Linked DNA regions of Homo sapiens: all the other regions are linked to region 2. Evidence: promoter capture Hi-C in 16 types of primary human blood cells and fetal thymus (Javierre and others, 2016). All regions are on one chromosome and are shown on one strand. Each heading gives the region's core, a stretch centred on a gene start or on the middle of the fragment in contact. The rest is flanking DNA. Distances are from core to core; before and after follow the strand shown. Region 1 overlaps ZBBX (zinc finger B-box domain containing). Region 2 holds the start of WDR49 (WD repeat domain 49). Region 3 has its middle 3.8 kb from the start of ZBBX.

Evidence for each region. The method cuts DNA at HindIII sites, captures the fragments that hold promoters and counts their contacts. A CHiCAGO score of 5 or more calls a contact.
Region 1: a fragment that was not itself captured here is called in contact with the fragment with the promoter of WDR49 in region 2 in 1 of 17 cell types (monocytes); the score reaches 6.9 in monocytes.
Region 3: a contact is called between a fragment that was not itself captured here and the fragment with the promoter of WDR49 in region 2, in 8 of 17 cell types (monocytes, naive B cells, M2 macrophages and 5 more). The highest score is 20.6, in monocytes.

Annotation. Positions count from the first base shown.
Region 1 is chr3:167,361,169-167,365,702 of GRCh38, reverse strand. The region is part of intron 6 of ZBBX (zinc finger B-box domain containing); the gene reads left to right. Among named protein-coding and RNA genes, the nearest start is that of ZBBX, 17 kb to the left of the region's middle. The HindIII fragment of the contact is 2,421 bases long and covers 951-3,371 here.
Region 2 is chr3:167,651,420-167,655,665 of GRCh38, reverse strand. It overlaps WDR49 (WD repeat domain 49), which reads left to right and starts at 1,724. Exons shown (of 19, transcript NM_001366157.1): 1 at 1,724-1,832; 2 at 2,167-2,405. The coding sequence starts at 2,241. RefSeq lists enhancers at 1,464-1,986, 1,987-2,510. The HindIII fragment of the contact is 616 bases long and covers 1,317-1,932 here.
Region 3 is chr3:167,381,899-167,386,319 of GRCh38, reverse strand. It overlaps a transcript of ZBBX not described here. Among named protein-coding and RNA genes, the nearest start is that of ZBBX, 3.8 kb to the right of the region's middle. The HindIII fragment of the contact is 2,300 bases long and covers 1,421-3,720 here.

The sequences.
Region 1 (4,534 bases), core at 912-3,411, 290 kb after region 2:
TTTTTCAGCTACAAACTGATTTCAAAATTTTACCTTGCAGTGAATTTTCCCACATCCCAAACTGAATTTTTCCATTCAGTGTGGATCTGGTTTAAAGTATATAAAATAGAACTAAATACTTCTAAACTAAGGTGAAAGCTATTGTTATTTAATATAACAAATGAGAGACTTTATTCCTACTTTTATATCACATTAGTTTAATGTTTTATATTCTGCTTCAATAATAATTTATTATTCATATACTGTTGATTCCATGTGTAAAGATACTCAAGAAAAAAATACTTTTCAGTTTCCCAGCTATAGAATTGCTGCTCCTTTACTGTGTGCTATAAAATATAATATTATATTTAAGATGAAAATCAGATAAGTGTCTTTACATAAAGAAAACAATTTTGCTTCTGGATTCTTTAGTGCAAGATTCGTGACTTTGTAAGTATTAGCTTACACAGTTTTTATTTTTTACGTACCTATCATTAAACTTTCATTGGGTCAGTTGGAATCTACAAAGATCTTACTTGGCGCTTCTAAAGTTTTTGGCTTTGAGAAAGCGTTTTATTCTCTGGTGTCATTCCCTATCTTAGGGAAAAATCAATTATAAAAGTTTTGACCCCAACGTTTAAAAAAAACTTATCTCACTAGAAACAGGCTATTTGTAAGACTATTAAAATAATCTAGAGGTCAGATGAAAGGAGGCTGAATTAAAAGGGTAGGAAAACATATATAAAGAAAAATATGGAACCATAAAACAGTGAGAAAGGAGAGGAGGAAGTCAAACATATAATTGATATTACAGGCTGGATTGACTAAGAGACAGCATAAAGAAAGGACTTAGAAAAGTACGGGGTATACATTTAGAGTTTTGTTTGAATTTTCAAGTGATAGTTGAAGTTAAGGGAGTAAATGTACTCCCTAGGATTTGTAAAACATAGAGAGGTGTAAAGAATAAAGCTTAAAGAAAGCCAGTGTGTAAACTATATTGGCAAAGAGAACTTTAATATTCACTCAATAAGCTCAATAAGTTTTAATACCAGTCAACAGTTTCGCTTCTTTTCCTTTCTTATCTCATTAAGTGCTTATATCACTCCTAAGAGGATGTTATTATTATTCCAGTTTCACAGATGAAATAACTTAATATAAAAAAAAACTAAATAACTCACTCAAGGTCAAAAGTCAGGGCCAAGATTTGACATGTAAGCTCTCAGGCTTGTCTAAGATAATTTGCCAGCTCTCTAGTGAAGAGAGATTGAGAAGAAAAAGAATGGCGAAGTAAAATCGAAGTAGTTCAATGTTATAAGGACGAAAGTAAAGGAGAACATTTTTGGAAAATATGAAGTCAATAATGTCCAATATATTGTGTAGTGAAAAAAGTTTTGAGTATCTATTTAGACTAGTGTTTCTGAAGGGGGCAATTTTGCTTCCCAGGAGACATTTGACAAAGTCTGGAGACATTTTCAGTTGTTAACATTGAGAGGTATATTTTTGTTGTTGTTGTTGTTTTTGCGTATTTTTTTTTTTTGCTAAAGATATATAGTGAGTAAGGGCCAGGGGTGCTGCTAAACATCCTACAATGCACTTGACAATCCCCACAACAAAGAATTATTCGGCCCCAAATGTCAGTGATGCTGAGGTCTAGAAACTCTGTATTAGATTATATAGATTAACATTCACTTAACCTTTCCAAGCCTCTATTACTACACTTGTAAACTTGCATAATAATACCTACTAACCACTTCAAAGAGCTTTTGAGCAATGTCAAAAACTCTTGAAATATGTGAAACCACTTTGTAATGATACCTAAACATTACATTAAAATGTCTATTTCTGGATAATGAAAATATTTAAAAGACCTAAATTTGATGATTGTGTCAATATTAAATAAGAGAGTAGATTTCAATTGGTTGAAAAGAAAACGGTGGGAAGCAATGAGTAAAGACTATTGTTGCAGCCAGCATGAAAGCAGTTGGTGACCTTTCAAGGGTTTAATAGAATCAAGGAAAGACTTTATTATATTCTTTTCTAGAATTGTCAAGATGATGTGGGCCAGTTTGTAGAATGAAAGATGGACATCCTAGTAGAGGAAAGAGTCAAAATGTAGATGAAAGAGGTGCCAGTTGCTGGGTGTGTGGTCTTTGAAGAGGTAGTCCATTAAAGAGGCCTTCACCAAGGAAAGGAAGACATATTTTTTGTGTGTGTGTGAGACAAGAAAGGTGGAAGAAAAAACAGGTGGCAATGAAAATAAATTTTAGAGATTGTTTTTGACAAGTGGTGAGGTGGGACACTGAAAGATTTTAATGGGAAGACCTCAACTTTCTTAGGACAGTTGAAGACAATATCGTCTGCTCAGGTGAATTAAGGGAAATGGGATGAATTTGAGTTCTTGGGAATGAAGAGGTTTGGAGTAGCCACTGTGGGAATTGTGGTTGGGGATTAGCAGCAAATGAGTAAATGGATTGCCAAAGAGCCATATAGCCCATTGAGGCTGATCAGCATGGATTTGTAGGAGGCTCTATAGTATTATTTTTATCACAGTGGTACATAGATATTGGAGGCATCAGAAGGAAGAGATAAGGTGATTGAGGTTGGCACTGAAAAACTTTAGAGTCTGAGATTTTGAAGGTGTGGCTATTCAGAATGCTGCTTACATGCCAGATTTGGTTATAATGGTGAGGTGGCTGAAGAGGCATTTAGATGTTCACAGTAGCCAGCATGTTGGAGGGTCTTCAAACCAGGATGTCAGGTGAACATGTGCATTGAAGTCTCTAAGACTGTCAAGCAGAAATGTGATGGAGAGAAATACCGAGCAGGTTGCTGAAGTTCAGGTGGAAGAGACCCTAGATATTGACACAAGCAATAAGTGGATGGTGGGGACCTATAGTAGAGGCACCTTTGCTGAATCATGATAGCACAATAATATTCTGGAAACAGCACTGAAGAGCAAATAGAAAAATTTTCTCTTTCCTGGTATGTGAAAGGAAGTGGAAAGGGGCTAGGTCCTGTGGGAAGTGCTTTGGTGAAGATTGTGTCTAAGCAAAGGTGGCTTTCAGTTGATGTAAACTTTTGATGAAACATTTTTGGGAAAGGTTTAAAGCATAAGATACATAAATGACTATTTAATAGAAGATCCACGGAATGGCAGTGGGGGCTTGGAAGGAAGGACAATTAGTACAGAATTGCGAAGTTTCAGTAGCTAACTGGGTTGACAGTGAGAACGTCTGAAAGATGACTGTAGGAGAAGTTTGGGCTCAGTGTGGCAGATGAAGGCATTGGTGGGAGTTCGGAGGTATTTGTGAATGCCAGGGAGGCTGATGATGACAGCATATTCTGACCCCAGTGGCATAGATAATATGTCTGTGTGGTAAATCCACTAAGCTTTCCTGGCCCCTGATAGCACCCCTTCAATACCTACTGGTGGAGGAGTCAGCATGTTAATAAGGCATAGGCTTTAGTATATTAAGTTCCTGACATTTGTATATACAAACATATGCAGATATCCATCTTTCTATCTATATGTATATATACATATGCATGTATTATATATGTATATGTACATGCGCATATATGTGTATATGTGTGTTTGTGTAAGCATGTGTATCCTTGGTTCAACCCTACCTCCAACCCTTTCCCTAACAGATAAAAATCAGACCTATGAGGAAATTCTATTTGTCTAAAAATAGCAGCTAGAGGTTTGTTCACTGAAATATTTTTATGCAGTTTGAATCACTTGAAATAAATATGGCTGTATTCATAGAGCAGAACAATATTATTCATAATAATAAAAACAAATTATACAATTTCCCTAATAATGGGTTCATTTTGCTTGGGCATATCTATCCATTCCATCCAGGGTAGCCTACAACCACACTGATCATGTTTCAATTCAGATGTATCATTAAGGTAGTCATACTGGATAATTTGGTTATGAAAAATGAGATTAGATTATCTGTAACTTGTATAACATTAGCAATTTAAAAATAAAAGTGTGGTTCATAGAAAAATTGATGATTTCAATCTTATTTTCTTTTCTGCTGTGTTTAGTACATAGCATCTGAGCAGTTACTTTGAAGAATGTGAAAAATAACTGCCCCTTTGAAGCAAAACCACTAGATTCACTGAGAATAATTAGGCCTACATTTTCAGATGACTGCAGTTGCTACAGCCATAGATATAGAGGCAGTCATTGTTCTCAGATTCTCATGTACAAATTGAGCAATTGAGCATGCAAATTGCAAATTGAAAACTAGGCCTGAATTGACAGTATCTATATAAATGCACACCATCCTTCATTCTCGTTTGTGTACTTTAAATGTTGGTTTTAATAAGATCAAGGCAAGCATGTTCAATTGGCAAGAGTATTTTACTTCCTAAAATATTAAAATCCCAAAATTTTAAGTGATGATTTATTTGAAATATCTAGCAGTGAATCTTATTTATTCATTTTTTTTGGCTAATATTTAGGAAAGTCAGTGATCACAAATAATACTTTTGAAGGATAAGTCTGTGATGCTTACACATGCAGTTCTCTAAATTGGGCAAA
Region 2 (4,246 bases), core at 475-2,974:
TTGGCTTCCCAAAATATGGAATTACAGGCATGAGCCACCGTGCCCTGCCTATTAGGCTCTTAATAAATGTTTTTTTTGAAAGAATAATGAGAGATGGATGAAAAAATGAAAGCATGAATGAAACTTCATTTTTTTCTATAATGGGTACAGGAACTCCTACAGGATGCTCTTCTCTCTGTTCTGTACCATGCCTCTAGTGAACACCAGCTCAGAGAATGTTAGAGCCGGAAGAGACCCTAGAGAAGATGTAATGCCAACTTTTTAGTTTACAGAAGTGAAAATAAAGTGCAACGGGCACATCCATCTAAAGTGCAGTGATACAGTTGGGCAGTGTCCCCACCCAAATCTCACCTTGAATTGTAATAATCCTCACATGACAAGGGCGTGGCCAGGTGGAGATAATTGACTCAAGGGGGCGGTTTCCCCATACTGTTCTCCTGGTAGTGAATAAGTCTCATGAGATCTGATGGTTTTATAAATGGGAGTTACCCTGCACATGCTGTCTTGCCTACTGCCATGTAAGTCATGACTTTGCCCTCATTAGCTTTCTGTCATGATTTTGAGGCCTCCCCAGCCATGTGAAATTATGAGTCAATTAAACCTCTTTCCTTTATAAATTACCCAGTCTCAGGTATGTCTTCATTAGCAGTGTGAAAACAGACTAATACATGCAGTATCTGAAGTTTGGGAGCCATTCTGTTCTCTTCCGTATGTTACTATTTGTGTGACCTTTGGCATTTTCTTTGCTTTTTTTTTTTTTCTTTTTTGAGACAGGGTCTCATTCTGTTGCCCAGGCTGGAGTGCAGTGGCACAATCTTGGCTCACTGCAACCTCTGCCCCCCAGGTTCAAGGGATCCTTCTAACTCAGCCTCCCGAGTAGCTGGGATCACAGGTGTGCGCCACCATGCTCGGCTGATTATTTTTGTATTTTTACTAGATACAATGTCTCGTCATGTTGCCCAGGCTGCTCTCGAACTCCTGAGCTGAAGCCATCCACCTGCCTCAGCCTCCCAAAGTGCAGGGATTACAGGCGTGAGCCACCTTGCCCGGCTTTTTGCTTCTTTATCAGTAAAATGGGGATAATGATCACATCTGCCTTGTAGGATTGTTGTGAAGCTTAAACAAGACAATGAACATAAAGTTTTAGTGCCTGGCACATGGTTAATACTCAAAAAATGTTAATTTTTCTTCTTTTTCTCCTCCTTTTCATTATTATTAGCTGAACCAGTAATGACACTGCAAGCAATTTTATCATTAGATTTATCATATTATGTTATGCTGTGTTTTTTTATCACATTTTCAACAAGTTGGAAGCTTTTTTGAACCATCTCTATTTTATATACATAGAAACTAAGACAAAAAGAATATAAGAAACAGATTCCTTTTATATAAAAATAAAACATTTTCTGTGTATAAAACATAAAATTCCAGAATTTCATGCTTTTCTCTTTGACTAATCATATAGTTTCATAATATATATCCTATATAATGGTAAAAGTTGTCTTTAAATAATACAAGATGTCGTTTAATAAAAAATGAGTGGAATGAACTGTCCTTTTATTTCAAAAAAAACCATTTCAACATTTACATTATATATTTAAACTTTCAGTTGGAGAGGGGGAAGTGAAAGGGAAAGTTTTAGTTGGCTTTGTGTTGGTTGCCAGGAAACATACAAAAGGATCAGAACAGATGAAACAAACAACTCCACATTGCTGGGAAGGTGGCATTCAGAGTCAAGTACTTCATTGGTAGGGAAACTCTGCAGCTTTGTCATCTAACTCTTCCAGACAAGAAAGTGGAATTGAAAACTACAACATGTTAATGGAAGCAAGGTTAGTTAAAGAGATTTTTGGGAAGGTGCTTTTCTAATGCATTTAAAATGAGGATTGGAAGTTGTTTTCTGTGTCAGTTACTATAAATGTGGGGAAAGCTTTACACATTTTTAATCAAGCCAGGTTAAACAGAGTATAAGGAAGGGGTAAAAATACCATTTTAAAAGCATTCAACTGTAAATTTTGAAAATAAACTCTAGAATCAAATAAGTGAGAGGGTTGAGGGCTTTCATTTCCTACCTCAGCTTGAACATTTTGCCTCCTGATCGTATGCCTTGAAAGGTTTGTACTTTCATTTTGGAATTCTGTTGCTAAGTTGAGTTTCTTTTCAAAGGCACCTGTTGAAGGAAAAAGAAGATCCATCCTTATAGAAATAGTTGAAGGCAACTGAGAAAAGGTGAAGCCATTATGAGTTGCCAGAAAGCTGTACTTGAGTTAAACATAGGGTCACAGCTTGGGCCAAAGAGTCCTGAGAGAACAGAAGGTGTAACTGCATTTGAAGACTATGGCACAGGCCTGCTTGAAAACCAACTCAGCGTGGGTGACTTTGTAAAAATACAGAAGGCCTTTGAGGTAAGTGTGAAGCTTATTGACCAGATAGTTTGAGTTGTTCATGAAGGAGCCTAGAATGAAACACAGAGATATTTTTCTTTAAGCATTAAAAAAATACACTTAATTGTTATAGCAGAGAATTAAAAATAATTGGTTAGGCCTGGATTTAACACAATGTGCTTGGTAGCTTTGCCCCTCAGTTCTTTGGGCCAAATAATATTCTTTAGTTTGAAATTGCTTCACTGAATTTCATTACTATCAAGAAAGAACTATTTATTGTTGGAAAAAATTTTTTTCTTAGAGATCAACATATTTTGGGGAAACAAAAAATTATGGCTGTGAGTGAAGAAAGCCAGATCTCTAAGGTGACCTCCAGGAATAATTGTTCTTGCATTTAATACGGACATAGAACTCAGCAAATGCAAATATGCATACCCAGTTTGCAAAAAATTTCCTCCTGTCTCACTCACCCTAAGTGGCACAGCTCCTTTTCTAAGCTGATTCTGGCACTTTGTTGTCCCAAGATCCCTTATGAGGGACGAGTCTCCCACTCATTTTGTAAATCCTGGAACAATGCCAATAAAAACAAAATTAGAATTTTTCATTTTAACTCTGCATAAAAAATAAACCATAGGAATTTAACTGTAAATGAATAATTTTCTTCTCTCTTAGTCAATGAATTTTGAATTCTGCAGCTATGCATAATGAACAGCATACATCAAAGTGGTTTTTAGTTTCAAATATGGGTAGAAAGAAGTGCTCTTCCATGACGTAGAATTTAGGTAGTCATGAGCCTCCAACATTTCTACTATATTATGTTTACTAAAGTATGATCTAGGGCCTTCTTAAGATTGTCCGTGGGTGCTTGGAGTATCCATACTAATTTGAAATAGAAAATATTTTGGAATACCACCTGGAAATTAATAAAATATAATAAAAGCTCACAATATATTAGCCTGTAATAGGCACACATTTTTATCTTTGGATATCCACAAAAGAATATAACAAGTTGGGTTCCACCTGTATTGATAAATTAATGTCCCAATAGTATCAATCATTTCTTTATAATAGAACTTATCATATTTAGTAGCAAGACATGCTCTGTCCTACACTTTTCTCATTTCAACCTTCATATATTTGCTATTCAACCAACCTCATTTGTCTGAAAGATTTCACTGCTGCTGCTCATGCCCAGTGCCCCAAGTAAATTTAGCATATTTTGATAGACATAGCAAACATTTTGACAGCTTGAGGACATTCAGTAAAACATAACAGCAGATTATGACAGCTTTGACTCTATAGTGAACAGAAATGTGGCAGTTTTGTTCCGGTGCTAAGAACACAAAGAATTTGAATGCTAGGGCCTATTAGGAGAGTCTACATTATAAAGTTGATGTGTTGGTGAAACTGCTTCAGAAGGTTAGAGGTGGGTGTTCTTTCCAAACTGCAGATTAGTCTTGAATGAACCCAAGTGAAACTGGAAAATTCAACCTCAAGTTTTAATTTATTTCTATTTTATGTTAAATATTTCAAAGGCCAGACCACTTATTTTGACATTACCGGTTGGAAAAGCAGGAACTAATGGACCAAAGAGGAGAAGAGAAGGTAATTCGGAGCTTGTATGAACATAGACAGTTTTTCTAAAAAAGAAATTGAGCTTTGCAGGTGTACCTTCAAAAAAAAAAAATGAAGTTCATCCATTTTAGCAGACTCAACAGCCAGAGAATGGAATAATCCCATGGCACATGTGCAGCCAGTACTAAAAGTTAGACCTTTGAGCCAACATGATTTCCAAACACAGCACGGACACCTAAAGAAGAATGATGCACTAGATGACTTTAATGGTATCCAGTCCATCTGTC
Region 3 (4,421 bases), core at 1,321-3,820, 270 kb after region 2:
TTAAGTAATTAATAAGGGAATTTTATTTTAAAGATGCAGGAGTGTATCATTTTTGGATGTAGCTAGTCTTCAGGAAGGGGAAAATTTCCAGAAAATCTGAAATCTGTCTCTCATCTTTGCTTCCTTCTCTCCCTGCCTCTACTTCCATCCTTTATTTTTTCTTTTTTTACCTTTTATCCTTTCTTTCTTTCTTCTGTCCAAATGACAGAATATTTTTGCCCCATGATTTTCTCTCTCAATCTCAATCTCTTATTCTCACAGGAGAGTATCTGACTGGTTCAGTTTGGACTCCTGTTCAATAAACCATTACAAGGGTAGGTTGGGTCACATAATGAAACATGGCTGCCAAGACTGACAGATTGTTGGCAGGCAAAGGCAGGAGGAAGAGTGGCAGATTATTGTTGTCCACCATATCTGCTTATCAATCCTTGGGTGGAACTAAGAAACACTAACCTTATACAGTTATGCACCATGTAAGTTTCAGTCAGTGACGGGATGACATATACAATGGTGGCCCCATATGATTATAATGGAGCTGAAAAATTACTTATCGCCTGGGGATGTCTTGATGATCCTGACTCTGTGTAGGGCTTGGGTAATACATGTGTTTGTGTCTTAGTTTTTAACAAAAACAGTTTTAAAATTAGAAGGAATAAATAGAAAAAGGCTTATAGATAAGTATATAAGGAAAAAAAATTTTGTGTACATCTGTACGATGTGTTTGTTTTGAGTTGTCATTACAAAAGGGTCAAAAAGTTTAAAAAAATTATAAGTTTATAAAGTAAAGTTACAGGAAGGTAAGGCTAATTTATATTAAAAGAATGAAATTTTTAAAAAAAATTTAGGGTAGCCTAAGTTTATAGTGTTTATAAAGTCTATAGTACCTACTCACTCATCCAAAGCAACTTCCAGTTCTGCCAACTCTAATTACGGTAAGTGCCCTATATAGGTATTCCATTTTTTTTGTCTTTTATACTGCATTTTGGCAGTCCTTTTTCTGTGTTTACATATGCTTAGATACACAAATACTGACCATTGTGTTAGAGTTGTGTATAGTATTCAGTACAGTAGCATGCTATAAGGGCTTATAGTCTAGAAGCAATAGGCTATACCAAATAGCCTAGGTGTATAACATCTAGGTTTGTGTCAGTTCACTCTTTGATGTTTGTACAATGACAAAATAACCTAATCACATATTTCTTAGAACATATCCTCATCATTAAGAGACACATGATTGTATTAAATTGAGGTTATAGTGAAAATAATGTTATTTATGTTCAAATAAAGTGTTCTGTTTTTTGAAACTGACTTTCTAAAGACTCCATCATGTGAATTGTGTCTTCACCTTCTCTGGACCCATATATACACCAACAATTTAAAAAGTTTTGTATTAGGAATGTTGATATTGGCAATGCAAGCTTCAATGACCAGTGCTAGTTCTTCTTTTTTACCAGCTGATGTAGTGCATGCTTGTCTGCAGTAAATGCATGAGAACACTGAGAAGAATAGATGATTACAGGAATAAATTCATTCAGGTTGCCAACCTCATTTGCAGAGACCCTGCAGTAAAAACACTGCTGGATAAAGAAGGTCACATATGGGTTTTATATTGGTCTATTTTAGGAATGCTGAATGAATGCCTCTCTCAATACTATGTCTTCTGTAGTTTCTCCGAGAAATCCTTGGACAATTTAAACTTTTCCTTCAGCTCTGGTTACTATCTGATTACATGCTGATGGTAACCTAATATATATGGTTGTCTCCTAAGTAACTAGAGCTATGTCATATTTTTGTATTCCTCCCTACTGCTATTGCAAAAGTAAAAACTCAGTCTGCCCTGCCTTCTTGACCCCACTCTCTGTGAGCTTATTTATTCTCTTGCTCTTCCACGGCTGGTTATCAGTACCATCTACTTATTTACCAAGCTATCAAATGTAGAGACAAGCAGCTCTGTTCCATATTCCTAGCTAACCATGTATCTGTACTTTCCAAGCCCTATTGAGAGTTTACAAAATCCTTTGAAACTGTTTCACTTGGCCTCTGCCCTCTGCCTTGATTTATTCAAGACTTATTATTTCTATCTTGGACTAATATAACCATATTTTAAAAGTGTCTCTTGTCCTCCTCTTTTCCACTTGCTCTATTTTTACATTGCCACCAGAATTACCCTTGAAAGATGCGGCTATACACATACTGAGATGCTTAAAGATCTGCTTTAAAAATTATTTGAGGGTATTAAGAGGAGAGAAGAAAAGAAAATTTCACAGTTTCCATTGTGAATAGGGTAACATTCAAAGTGCTTTTTAATGTGCTCCTAGCACAACTTTTCATTCTTATCTTTTTGCCACATATACTATGTTTGAACCAACTAGAAATTCTGCCCATGCCACAAACATGTAATGCTCCCATTCTTTTTGAACGTAGTACTTAATACATTACATATTAATTAGTTGCAAACTCTCACTTGAATTACTCAAGGACAGAGACGGTGTCTTTGTTCACCTTTGTACCTATCTTAGGGCCGTGCCTGGAATAGAACAGGTGTTGAATAAATGTTGATTAAATTTAACTATGCTCATTCAACAAGGCTATACATTTATTTTTCAATTTGGAAGACACTGCACATTGCAGGAATCGAAAATTTATCATAGGCCCTGATGATTCTCCTCCATTTGTGAAGCATCAGTAATAATTGCCTTGTGTTATGAAAATTTATTTGCTTAGAAATTCTGTGTCATGGATGATAGGCAGAAATTACAAAGCCGAGAAAAATTATAAAAGGCCAATGTCACCTCTTAACTCTAAGTTTCTTTTTATTCTTCCTCAAGTTTAGCCATTCGGATGCATTTAAATATATTTATATCATACTAATTTGGTTTTTGCTAAGGATTTTTTGTAATTTTATGTTGTCTCTAAAGCTCAGTTTTCTTGACAAGTTGAAAAACCCCATACATATGTAATAGGATGTTATATTTAGCATTTACCAAGGCATAAAGAAAGTAGATGCTTCATGTAAAAGTAAAACCACATTTCAGGGCTTGTAAAAAAGGAGATGGTAGGAATTTGGTTTTGCTACCTTGAAATGCCCACAAACTTTTGCCTATAAAAGAATCTGAAGGGCCAAAGAGCAAATGGAAATTGAGAGAATACTTCTGGAAAGCTGCAGATATGATATTTGTCCCATTTTCTTCCAAAGGTTTGGTATTATCAAAATATAATTGCAATACTTAAAAACAAGATATTCTTTAAGTAGAGAATATACATGTGATACAGTTTAATTCATTAAGGACGGAATTATTAGAATGGTAAAGCTGGTTCAAAGAAAATTTGGTAGCTGACTGTATATAGGAATTGAGATAAAATATTAGTATGAGATTTCTAGGTTAGATACAAAACTGGTTAAAGTTGTATAGTGCAATAAAACCATTAGCTTTGAAATTATTTTATTTAAAGGAAAGACATTATTTACATATCCAGATACAAATGATATGAAAAATGCAGGTGAAAAAATCTTCAAATAAACATACAACATTACACAGAGACTTTATCAATAGTTAATGATAAGAAAAGCAACACTTTTTTTTAGAAAATCATGTAATGCTCAGATTATCTTAAACAGTATTCTAGTATGGCATTGAAAAGACATGCTGTTTTTGGCTTTACCTTATTTCTAAGTTTTGGATAATGCTTGTTTACAGTCCCTGACCCTTATTTCAAGCTTAGTAAAATGAGTCATGTAAATCTGTGCTCTTAATTTCTGCATTGCCGGTAATTTTTATCTCTTTAAATTGAATATCTCCAGTTCAGAAAACTTGTATTCAAACCTTGTCTCCACTGTGGCACAAAGAAGCATGAGTTTGGAAAAACCCTCAGGAATACTGTGCTCTTGATATAGTTGTGGTAAACTGTGTGCGGCATTGCTGGTGTGCCAGTTAAACGCATTTTACTTCAGTGGAGAGAATATCATCTCTCTAGAGCTGTAATTGTTTTGACATGTTTCATTTCATTTTGTCACTAATCATCATTCTGAAAGACAAGCACTTCATACTTTTTATTTTACTATGTGACTTAGCATAGGCTTAGTTTTTGTCTCTGCTTTGCCTTTTCATAACTGTGCATAAGCTATTTTTCTAAATATAAGATAATGTTCTTTTAATGCTTTCAAAAAGTGCAAGAATACTTTATACATTATTTTTATGAGTTTAATTTTACTATTGTGTAAGTAAATGCATTGTAAGAATCATTTTTTGGAGTAAAAGTCCTTTGTAGAAGTGAGGAGAAGTTATTTGCAAAATAATCTTTACTGGGACATAATTGACATGTGTTTACTGTTCTCTCTGGACTGTTTCTTCCTCTAGTGGCCCATGTCTTTCTCTTTCCTTGCATTCAGATACTTCCCTGGCCATCTACCCTAAAACAGA